Linked DNA regions of Homo sapiens: regions 2, 3 and 4 are each linked to region 1. Evidence: promoter capture Hi-C in 16 types of primary human blood cells and fetal thymus (Javierre and others, 2016). All regions are on one chromosome and are shown on one strand. The core of a region is centred on a gene start or on the middle of the fragment in contact, and the rest is flanking DNA. Distances in the headings are between cores, read along the strand shown. Region 1 holds the start of NEO1 (neogenin 1). Region 2 overlaps BBS4 (Bardet-Biedl syndrome 4). Region 3 has its middle 35 kb from the start of ADPGK-AS1. Region 4 overlaps BBS4 (Bardet-Biedl syndrome 4).

What was found. The method cuts DNA at HindIII sites, captures the fragments that hold promoters and counts their contacts. A CHiCAGO score of 5 or more calls a contact.
Region 2: a fragment that was not itself captured here is called in contact with the fragment with the promoter of NEO1 in region 1 in 3 of 17 cell types (total CD4 T cells, non-activated CD4 T cells and naive CD4 T cells); the score reaches 5.6 in total CD4 T cells.
Region 3: a contact is called between a fragment that was not itself captured here and the fragment with the promoter of NEO1 in region 1, in 3 of 17 cell types (naive CD4 T cells, activated CD4 T cells and total CD4 T cells). The highest score is 7.4, in naive CD4 T cells.
Region 4: a contact is called between a fragment that was not itself captured here and the fragment with the promoter of NEO1 in region 1, in 1 of 17 cell types (endothelial precursors). The highest score is 5.5, in endothelial precursors.

The regions. Positions count from the first base shown.
Region 1 is chr15:73,051,112-73,054,047 of GRCh38, reverse strand. NEO1 (neogenin 1) reads right to left here and starts at 1,585. Exons shown (of 29, transcript NM_002499.4): 1 at 1,243-1,585. The coding sequence starts at 1,372. RefSeq lists silencers at 1,266-1,645, 1,876-2,195, 2,286-2,355, 2,416-2,465. The HindIII fragment of the contact is 4,913 bases long and covers 1-2,936 here.
Region 2 is chr15:72,729,873-72,732,669 of GRCh38, reverse strand. It overlaps BBS4 (Bardet-Biedl syndrome 4), which reads right to left. Exons shown (of 16, transcript NM_033028.5): 11 at 1,213-1,365; 12 at 944-1,115. Among named protein-coding and RNA genes, the nearest start is that of BBS4, 45 kb to the right of the region's middle. The HindIII fragment of the contact is 2,643 bases long and covers 95-2,737 here.
Region 3 is chr15:72,746,291-72,749,242 of GRCh38, reverse strand. No RefSeq gene overlaps it. Among named protein-coding and RNA genes, the nearest start is that of ADPGK-AS1, 35 kb to the left of the region's middle. The HindIII fragment of the contact is 6,810 bases long and covers 1-2,952 here.
Region 4 is chr15:72,705,482-72,708,382 of GRCh38, reverse strand. The region is part of intron 2 of BBS4 (Bardet-Biedl syndrome 4); the gene reads right to left. Among named protein-coding and RNA genes, the nearest start is that of BBS4, 21 kb to the right of the region's middle. RefSeq lists a silencer at 1,799-1,999. The HindIII fragment of the contact is 538 bases long and covers 1,354-1,891 here.

The DNA of each region.
Region 1 (2,936 bases), core at 336-2,835:
ACTATTGTTTACGTAGCTGTTTAGAGAATACCGAGTGGTACTTTACGTTTAAAGCTGTTCTTTAACATTGGCAAAAGCCATGAGCTACATACACACTCTGCAAGGAAATGAAAAGTTTATCAGTCAAGTTACCTTGCAGTGTGATTTTAAATATTATTTCATATAAATCAGGGAAAAACAAGTACTGGTTCAGCGGTAAGACTGCTTTCAAATGTAAAAATATCATATCTCACACGAGTGAAAGTTTTGTCAAGTTTTATGGTACACCACCTTGGTCAAATAATTTTAACAGATTACATGCTAATTTGCCTTTCAACTGCTGAGTGTATCCTGCTCAACAATACCGTAAGGTCCTTCCCGGAAGGCTTGGCATTTTTGTTCGTTGGTCCCCTTAATAGGAATGCAGGTGGTTTCAGTAATCTATAATATTCCAAAAAAGAACTGAAAATGGCTTTTGAGGTTCAATGTTTATACAATGCCATCTGAAAACATTGTACAAGTACCTAAAATCTGATGCTTAGACAATTCCCTTGGTTAAGAGTGGTTAATAGGCTGTAAATATAGTTGTAATCCCCAGGAAAGAAGAGGCATTTCATAACGGAAACACTAACAGATACGATCACTCCGAGCCGCTCTCCAAGGCGTCCTCATCGTTAAATCAACACCAGGGGTTGTGAGCGGGCAATTGTGCCCCTCTGACACCCCCGCTCTTCCGCAGACTCGGGCTCCAATCCCCGCGCGAGGAGTCCCTCGAGACTAGCCAGCTCTTCCTCGAGACTTCGGAAGCTGGGAAATCCCTGGCCAGGGAACCAGGAGCTCAAGCCCCCTCCCCTTTCCTTTCCTGAAAATTAATGAATTGGCCGTCTGATTGTTTATTTAATGAGGTGTGTAGTGGCCTCTACTGGTGCTAGTGTGAGCACAAGAATGTCCCACTCTTACAAGTGGGATGAGCCTGGGGGAGGGGAGAGAGGCGAGGGGTGAACCTGCCTCCAGGTACAAAGCTGGGAACTAGACCCCTGCGCCCCCGACCTGCCCCCCGGCAGCCGCCCCTTCCCCGGTGGCGCCCCCTCTCGCCCTTCTCCTCCCCACCACGCGCGATCCCCTTTCTCTTCGGCAACCGGAGCCGAGGCAGAGAAGTTCCTGCACGTTTCCTCCTGGATCCTAAACAAAAACACCGCAGCCGCGGCCGCCTGAGCCGGTGCCGCGCCCCCGCGAACCCCCGGGCCCGCGCCCGCCGCTTACCTGGGGACTGCGGCGCGGAGCCGCTCCTGGCGGCCGCGGCGCCCGGCGCCCGGCGCCCGAGCAGCAGCAGGCAGTAGAGCCAGAAGGAGGGGGTGCTGAGGAGTCGCCGGGCTCCCCGCTCCGCCGCCATCTCTTCCCCGAGAGTGAGCGGCAGCGGCGGCGACAGCGCCGCGGAGCCCTTGCCTCCTTCCCTCCCGCGCGCCTCAGCCGGTCCCTCGCTGCAAGCTCGGCTCCCGCGGCCGCCGCTGCTCCAGCCCAGCCCGGCCCGGCCCGGCCCGCGCAGCCCCTCTCGCTGGAGGGGAGACTCCAGGGCGCCTCCCTCCTGCAAGGGGGCGGGGAGGGGAGGAGAGCGAAGAAGGGGAGTCAGTACATTCCGGGGCGGGGGGGGGGGGGCGGTGGGTCGGTCTCCAGGTTCCAGGCGCCGCCACCCGCCGCCGACTCCGGCTCCACACACCAGCGCGAGGGGGGCGGAGACCGCGGACGGCGGGGGCGGGGGCGGGGGCGGGGGGCGGGAGTCCCGGGCGCGCACACGCGCACGCGCGCGCCTCGCCCGCACCCCCTCGGCTCCGCGCGCGGCCCGCCCCCGCTCCAATCCCGGCTGCCGCCTCTCGGGCCGTGGCGGGCCCGCTCCCCTCCCCCTTCTCCCCGGAGCCGCTGACGGGTGCGGGGCGCGCGCGCCGGGCGCTGCTGCTGGCGTCAGGGAAACCCCGGAGAAGCGGATCCTCCTGCTCCTCCCGCCCGCTCGCCGCAGCCCCTCGGCTCCGCGCGCCCCCGCCTCCTCCTCCTCGCCTCGGGGACAAATTCCCCCCTCACCTCCCCAGATGCCTCTGGCTGCAGAGACCTGAGGGCGAGAGGCGCTCCGAGCTCAGGCTGGTCCGGGAGGCCGGCGTGGGCGCGCACCTCTGCACAGTCCGGGCCTGGAGCCTCTATATAGGGCCTCAGAGGAAACCGAAAGGCCTCCGGGAGGAAACCTGGGTGCGCAGTGGGTCGGCCCGGGGATTTATGTGCTCGCCAAAAACAATAGCGATCCCGCCCGACTCTTGCTGGGCCCTGGCGCGGCTCCCGTGGGAGGGGGCCGGCCGCGCAGCCGCTGACCTCCGGCTCCCAAGCCGGGCCGCCGTCGCCGCGCGCTTCCCCCGGGCAGCGCCGGGACCCGCCCGAACCGCGCCCCCACCCGCATCGCTCGGCCCGGGTCCAGGGAACTAGGCACAGACAAAGGTGCCCGCTGTCCACTTCCTCAGCTCGTGCGGGGGCCCCGACCGAGCCCTGGGACTCCCCGGGGCCAGTCTTCTCGCAGTAACTGCTACGTTTTACCTGTACCTTTGCGGGACACTTGGCGTTTTCCTACCTGGGAATCACGTCTTTCGCTGATAAACCAAGGAGCAAGTGGGATATGATTTTAAACCACTTAGTAATCGTGAGGCAGCACCCAGGCTACACAAAGTTAGGAGAAAGCAGTTTGTAGTTCCACTGCTGATGAGACTATTGATCATTTTATATACTGCACCCATGAAAAATTTTTAAAGAAAATTTATTTGTATGATTATGCAAGCAGAGTCACGTTTGGTGGTTGATAGGCGTTGGGTTTTATTCACTCTTCTGTGTAGTCGATAACCGAAATGTCTTGCTTCCCACAAGAAAATGGCTATTTCACTAACATATCCCTCTGTGCTTTCTCATAGTTACTTTCCAAA
Region 2 (2,797 bases), core at 167-2,666, 320 kb after region 1:
CCATATCTGAATAATAATAAAACCTATGTTTTTTTTTTAAAGTTATCTTTGTATTCAGGCAACCCTCAAATAACCACAATTGCTTTTGCAAGCTTTCTCTTTTAAATAAGAACCCACAGTAATGAACAAAAAGCCACTGGAAGACGACTGCCAAATGAGGACATGGAAATCTGCTTTGGGTCTTACATTTAGTAAGTAAATGTATATGGAGAAAAAAATTCCTAGAAAGACTAGTCAGTACTTTAAAATGGTTGTGCATAATTGTTAAAGTGTTTGATTAATTTTAACTTATTTTTATGATCAATTTTAGTATTTGCATGGCATAAAATGGAGTTTCAGGAAGAGAATGGCATTCTATATAACATGCTCAGAAGAGATAAGGGTTTCAACATAAGGTAGCTTGACTTGGAAGTATCACCTAGGGGCCAATTATAGTAACAACAATATTGATAATAATAGACCAATTATATAACCACAGTAAAACCAACAGTTTTCAAAAATCAGTATTTCAACAAAACCAGTATTATTAATTGAGAGCTTAATCATGCAATCCTCACATCAGCCCTAGGTACATATAATAAGTAGTAGAGGCAGGACCCTACCTAAAACCCAAGCTCTTAACACTTGCTGTCTGGAACTTAGTTGGACTCAATATATACATAAATGAATTGTCAAGGCAAGAGGAAAAAACTGGTAAAAGGTGAACTAGGGATGATCTTTATTTAACCTGTTGGTCTCTGAGTCAAACTCCCCCAAGTTAGAAACAACCAAGTTCCTTTGTCATCTTTTTCTATTTCTTCAAGCTCCAGGACAGTAATCCAGATTCCTACAGGATCTCTAAGGGAATGGCTCCTATGAGACAGCCACTGATCTTCTATGATTCTAATCCATTTTTCCCTCATTACAGATGGCAGAGAGAGTTTTCCACATAAATGTTTCTTACCTGCCAAGAGCATGTAGAGCTCCCCCATCTTTGGCTGGAAGTTGATGGCCGCACTGAGAAAATGAAAAGCTGATGCATACTGCTGCATGGTCAAATGGACAAGGCCCAAATTATACAGAATCTTCCAATCAAAGGGTGCCAAGTAGTTGGCTCGTTTCAGGCAGCTGATGGCCTATGAGAGAGAAGGGGCACTCAATGAGAAGGGCAAGCTAAACAGACCCAATAACCACATGTAGAAATACAAACAAAGAACATGAGGGGACACTCACCGCCACATATTTCTTCTTGCCAAAGAAACACATTCCAATGTTATTCCAGAGTGGAGGACTTTCTGGAACAGCACAAGCCACAACTCTGTATTTGGTGAGGGCAACATCAAAGTCCCCGTGGGTCTGCATCATGCTGCCTGCTGCCAAGATGGCCTGAAAACATGGCACAGAGAAAGTCATTCAGTCATTCCCAAAAGGCTGTAGCAGTGGGGCAGCTTTCCTGAGTCTATACTCAGCAGGCCCATCAGCATAGATGGGACTGGAAAATTTCTTCCAGGGACATAAATATATCCAACCTATTGGGACAAATGTTCCTGAGGAATGTCCTTGCACTCTACACTGTGGCTCTCTGGCACAGCACAAAAAAAAAAAAAAAAAAAAAAAAAAAAAAAGATAAAATGTTACTTGCTTTACCCATCTGTTTCCTACTTCTAGCCAGGAAAGTCAGTATTTCAGAATGAATACCAGAGCCCTTTAAGTAAAAACTTCCTTTAATCTGTTCTCTGCAGCCCCTATTTGGTATACCAAGTGTTCTAGATACCTGAAATACACCTGTACGTGGCTACTTAAGGTAAATTTCTTTCTACCGTAGAACAGAGGGCGAGTCAGCTTTAGGCTTCATCAGCCCAGCCCTTTCATTTCTCTAAGGAAAGGTATCAAGGTGGGAGCTGACAGTCTAATGTTACTTCCTAAATCAGAATTCAGTTTGTATCCTTTAATAAACAGCTTGTCTTGCTGCATCTCCTCAATGATGTTCATCCATTTGATGCTATTCCTTCTCATTCCCAAAGTCACATCTAGAAAAAAAGTTGTAGTATCAAATCATTAGGACTCTAGAAGTCATTTCAACATAATTATTGTTTCTTTTTAGAGACAGGGTCTCTGTCACCCAGGCTGGAGTATAGTGGTGCCATCATAGCCCACTGTAGACTCAAACTCCTGGGCTCAAGTGATCTTCCCTCTTCCACCTTCCGAGTGGCTAGGACTACAGGTGTGTGCCACCATGCCTGGATAATTTTTTTTGTAGAAATGGGGGTCTCACTATGTGGCCCAGCCTGGTCTTGAACTCCTGGCCTCAAGTGATCCTCCTGCCTCAGCATTCCAAAGTGCTGGGATTACAGGCATAAGCCACCATGCCCAGCAGATTTATTTTTTTTATTTTTTATTTTTTTTTTTTTTGAGACAGAGTCTCGCTCTGTCACCCAGGCTGGAGTGCAGTGGCGCGTGATCTCAGCTCACTGCAAGCTCTGCCTCCCGGGTTCACGCCATTCTCCTGCCTCAGCCTCCCGAGGAGCTGGGACTACAGGCGCCCGCCACCACGCCCGGCTAATTTTTTTGTATTTTTAGTAGAGACGGGGTTTCACTGTGTTAGCCAGGATGGTCTCGATCTCCTGACCTCGTGATCTGCCCACCTCAGCCTCCCAAAGTGCTGGGATTACAGGCGTGAGCCACCGCGCCGGGCCGCAGATTTATTTTTGACAATAGTTGTGGAGGCATTGCTAATTTCCTAAGTAACACATAAGCTTTACTAGCACTATGATCTGCCTTCTGCAGGGGTTACACGTCTATTATAACAAATGTGCAC
Region 3 (2,952 bases), core at 433-2,932, 300 kb after region 1:
ACCTCCCAGGTTCAAGCGATTCTCCTGCCTCAGCCGCCCTAGTAGCTGGGATTACAGGTGCCTGCCACTAGACCTGGCTAATTTTTGTATTTTTTGTAGAGATGGGGTTTTACCATGTTGGCCAGGTAACGGTCAGGCGCGGTCTCTACTAAAAATACAAAAATTAGCTGGGTGTGGTGGTGGGTGCCTGTAATCCCAGCTACTGGGGAGGCTGAGACAAGAGAACTGCTTGAGCCCATGGGGCAGAGGTTGGAGTGAGCCAAGATCATGCACTTCTGCCTGGGCAGCACAGCCAACTCTGTCTCAAAAAAAAAAAAAAAAAAAAAAGATTCAGAATGGACAGCCCCAAGCACATTGTCTGAGTTAGTCTTGATCTGCAAGGAGCAGCAAAAATGAAAAGTCTCCATCACCCTAGATAGTTCCTTCATGCCACTTCCAAGTCATCCCCACCGCATACCTCAAGCCCCAGAACAACCAGTTATTTTCCACCAGAAATCAGTTTTGCCTGTTTTCAGAATGCAACTTAAAAATGGAGCCATTCAGTATTTAGTCCTTTGTATAGAGCTTCTTCCATTTAGCATAGTATTTTTTAGAGTAATCCATGTTGCATGTAGTTGGTTGCTTTTTATAGCTAGATAGTACTCCACTGTGAGTACAGAGCATTCCACTTTGGAATTATTATGAATAAAGCTGCTGTCAACAAGTGTTTGTGTAGACGTACTGTCATTTCTCTTGGGTAAAGGCCTATAGGAGGGAAATTGCTGGGTGAAAGGCCTTTTTTCTAAAATGGTTGGACCATTTACACTCCCTAAAACAGCATATGACAGTTGTGGTTGCTTTTCTTCCCCACAACCATCTGGAGTTGTCAATGTTTAATTTTACCCATTTTGACAGGTATACAGTGGTATTTCAGCATGGATTCAATTTGTATTTCCCTAATGACATATGAGCACTTTTTCATGTGCTTTATTGACTATTCATATATCTTTCTTTGTGAAGTGTCCAAATCTTTTGCCTTTTTCTCCCCCAGTTGAGTTGTTTGCTTTGTGTATGTTGTTTGGGTTGTTAGGTTTTTTTGAGTAATAAGAGTTGCATCCAAAATGTTTGGATACAAGTCCTTTGTCAGATATGTTTTGTACTTTCTCCAAGTCTGTGGTTTGATATCCTTTTTCTTAATGTCTTAATGTTCTCTATGCCCAAAGAAATATTGGACCATGCCCATGTCACAAATATAGTCTCACTTTGTATATAAAATGTGTAAGTTTTTATCATGTACAGCATGTTTTGAAATATGTATATATTACCTTTACATTAGCTGTAGGTATATAGCTATATTGAGCTAATTATGCATTGTCTCAGTTTTTTGTGGTGAGAACACTTGAAATCTTCTGTTGGCAATTTTCAATAACTTTTTCTTCTTTAAATTCTTTTGTATTGTATTTTTATATACTAGGAAATTTTCAATAATACATTAAGTAGAGTCACCGTGTTGTACATCTCCCCAACCCCTGCCCCTAGATTGCTTTTCCATACAGCTATCCAGTCGTTCCAGTAACATTGGTTGAAAAGACTTTTCCCATTGCATTGCTTTGGTACCTTTATCAAAAATCAAATGACTGTATAACTGTAAGGTCTATGTATGCACTCACTTCTGTTTTATTGCTCTATTTGTCTATCTTTATGCCAGTGCTACATGAGCACTATTATAGTAAGTCTTGAAGTAAGGCAGTGTAAGTCTTCCAATTTTGGTTTTTTTCCATGATTGCTTTACATGTTCTTGGTCCTTTGTGTTTCCATAACATTTTAGAGCCAGCTTGTCAAGTCAATTTCTACCCCAAAACCTGCTGGGATTATGATAGGATCTATAGATGAATTTCGGAAGAATTTTTATCTTAACAGTATTTAGTCGTACAATGCATGAACATGATATATATTTCTATAATGGCCTTCTGTTTCACACCAGTGCTTTTGCCGTTTTCAGAGTAGAGGTCTTAACGTGTAGTCTGTTAAATTCCTAAGTATTTCGTATCAATAGTATTTGACACTTTTGTGATTTTTTTTATTTTCAAAATTGTTCCTTGTATATAAAAATACAATTGATTTTTGTACATTGACTGTATCTTGTGACCCTGCCAAATCCACTTGGGTGTAGTCACTTTTATTTTAATAATTTATTTTTAGGATTCCTTAGGATCTTCCACATAATCATGTCATCTGTAAAGAGTTTTATTTCTTCCTTTCTAGTCTTTATGCCTTTTTATTTCTTGCCTTATTGCACTGGCCAGAACTCTAGTCCAGTATAAGGCTGAATAGAAGTGGTAAGAGCAAACATCTTTGCCTTGGTCCTGATCTTAGGGGCAAAGTAGTCAATATTTCACTAAATATGATATCCATTGCATTTTTTTTCTCATGGATGCCCTTCATCAGGTTGAAGATGTTCCCATCTATTCTTTATTTGCTGAGAATTTTTATGATTTTGTTTTGTTTTTACTTTCTCAGGGGCTGAGAAGGGTATTGAAGTTTTAGGTTCATAGGAAATTGAGGAAATACAGACACTTGCCATATACCAGCTGCCCCAACACATGCATAGCCTCTTCCCTCCCTATCAACATCTCCCACAAGAACATGTAAAGCAAACATCTCCCACATTTGTTACAACTGATGTATATATACGGACACATCTTTATCACCCAAAGTCCATAATTTACTTTTGGCTTCAGTCTTGTACATTCTGTGGCTTTGGACAGAGTCTCACTCTGTCACCCAGGCTGGAGCACAGTGGCACAATCTTGACTCACTGCAACTTCCACCTCCTGGGTTCAAGCCATTCTCCTGCCTCAGCCTCCTGAGTAACTGGAATTACAGGTGTGCGCCACCATGCCCGGCTAATTTTTGTATTTTTAGTAGAGACGGGGTTTTGCCAGGTTGGCCCGGCTGGTCTGAAACTCCTGA
Region 4 (2,901 bases), core at 373-2,872, 350 kb after region 1:
GTCCATGAAATAATCACAATTTACGTTCCTCTGCCACAGCTCCAGCCGGTCCCTCCGTTTGGGGCCCCTGACTTCCCGCAACAGAAATATACATATAAGATAGTTAATATCACTTCTGGCCAGGTGCAGTGGCTCACGCCTGTAATCCCAGCACTTTGGGAGGCCAAGGCAGGCAGATCACGAGGTCAGAAGATCGAGACCATCCTAGCAAACATGGTGAAACCCTGTCTCTACTAAAAATACAAAAAATTAGCCGGGTGTGGTAACCCGCACCAATAGTCCCAGCTACTTGGGAGGCTGAGGCAGGAGCATCACTTGAACCTGGGAGAAGGAGGTTACAGTGAGCCGAGATCGCGCCACTGCACTCCAGCCTGGTGAAAGAGTGAGACTCCGTCTCAAAAAAAAAAAAAAATCACATCTGATGATCAGAGTACCACAAATATTTTAAATAGTTAAACACAATCTTTAGAAATAGCTCAAATGAGAACATTATGCTGTTGCCCAGAAATGAGAAGTCAACGATGAAAAAAATCTAGTTGAGTCATTGAAAATGGCTCACAATACAGAAACCATAAAATGAGTTACCTGCCCACTGAAATCAGAAGTTTAAAATATGGTCAAATTCATTAAGAATTACTTTTCTGTGGTAACAAGGAGTAGAAAGATCCAAATTAACCCAAGAATAGTGAAGATCTCAAGGAAGGAAGAGGGAAGAACAGAATTATGAAAAGACAGAAAGGAGACTTCAACTCTTTAATGCCTATTTCTCAAAAAAATAAAAAGCTTTAAAGTAAACATGACTAAATGTTTTTTATTAAGCCTAGCCAGTGAGTACATGTGTGTTTATATTATTTTTTGTGAATTTTAATATGTTGGAGACAGTCCTTTTTAAAAATGGAAAAGAGGCCAGATGTGGTGGCTCATGCCTATAATCCCAGCACTTTGGGAGACCGAGGAGGGCAGATCATTTGAGTCCAGGAGTTTGAGGTCAGCCTGGACAACATGGTGAAACCCCATCTCTACAAAAAAATACAAAAATTAGCAGGGTGTGGTGGCGCATCCTGACATCCCAGCTACTAGGGAGGCTTGGGCACCAGAATCACTTGAACCTGGTGCGGGGAGGTTACAGTGAGCCAAGATCATGACACTGTACTCCAGCCTCGGCCAAAGAGCAAGATTCTGTCTCCAAAAAAAAAAAAAGAAAAGAAAAAAGGAAAAGAAAGGGAAGAGCATGGGGAAGAGAGGAAAATGACTGTAATCCATTTCTTGATGTTCTGCAACCTAAGGAGAAACAATCTAAAGAAAACCAAAAAACTTCTATGTCCATAATATGACAGGAAGAAAAAAAAAGCTTACTGTGACTCAGAGTTAATGTTGCCTGAACACAAAAATTAAAAGGTACAACCAGACACACTGGCTCACAACTGTAATCCCAGCGCTTTGGGAGGCTGAGGCAGGAGGATCAGTTGAGCCCAGAAATTTGATACCAGCCTGGGCAATACAGCAGGACCCTCATTTCAACAAAAAATTTAATTTTTTTAAAAAAATAAAAAAGAAGTAATGCTGCTCATTGCTATCCAAGAATAGGGATTATCAATGGAATTTGTAAGAAGAAATTATAACAGAAAGTATGGATATGACTTTACATGCCAGGAACAAGAAAAAAAGTAAAATTTTAAGCAACTGACTCTTCATTTTCTGACTACACACATTTTCTTAGTAGAACCACCCTTCTAGTCGTTGGGGCCGATCTGAAATTCTTCTAAGACTTGTGTTTCCTTTCTTTTCTTCCCCTAGGCTTCACCAATGACCAGACCTTAGCCATTCACATCCTACTTAACCACTTCCAGAATCAAATCTCCTTCGAAAAAGCCACACGAGTCACCAAGCTTAAAGACATGTGAGTGTGTTAAGTGCATAAAGTGCACCGTCATAAATAGTTCCAGGGTCCGGGGGTGGTGACTCACGCCTGTAATCCTAGCATTTTGGGAGGTCCACGCAGGTGGATCATGAGGTCAGGAGATCGAAACAATCCTGGCTAACACAATGAAACCAAGTCTCTACTAAAAATACAAAAAATTAGCCGGGAGTGGTGGCGGGCACCTATAATCCCAGCTACTCGGGAGGCTGAGGCAAAAGAATCGCTTGAACCCAGGAGACGGGGGTTGCAGTGAGCCAAGATCACACCACTGCACTCCAGCCTGGGCGACAGAGCGAGACTCCATCTCAAAAATAAGTAAATAAATAAATAGTTCTGGGACAAGTAGCTTACTAAGTCATCTTGGACCAAGTCTCAACTGCATGACCCAGTCCTCTGTCACCTATCTACTAAAGGGAAAGAGTAAAAGAGAATGAGGCACTGAACCCTTTTGAGTTTATACTAAGTATTACAAACCTTAGATACTTAGTATATCACTAAGTAGTCTAAAAGAAAATTTATAAAATGTTAATTTTCAAGTCTTAGCTGTTATTAAAATCTCACAATAAAAGACAATCAGGGCTAGCTATAGTGGTTTACGCCTGTAACCCCAGCACTTTGGGAGGCCCAGGTGGACGGATCACTTGAGTCCAGCACTTCAAGGCCAGCCTGGACAAACCCCATCTCTACAAAAAATACAAAAAAATTAGCCAGGAGTGGAGGCACAAGCCTGTAGTCCCAGCTACTCAGGAGGCTGAGTTAGGAGGATTGCTTGAGCCTGGGAGGCAGAGGTTGCAATGAACCATGATTGTGCACTGCACTCCAACCTGGGTGACAGAGTGAGACCCAGTCTCAAAAAAAAAAAAAAAAAAAAAAAGGACAAGCCATGTTTTGTGTTTCTTGAGTGAAAGCTGGAGAAAAAAGTGTTCAATTTGTAAGGTAGCTCAAGAACCCAAACGCTCATTAAATGGAACTCTAGGGAT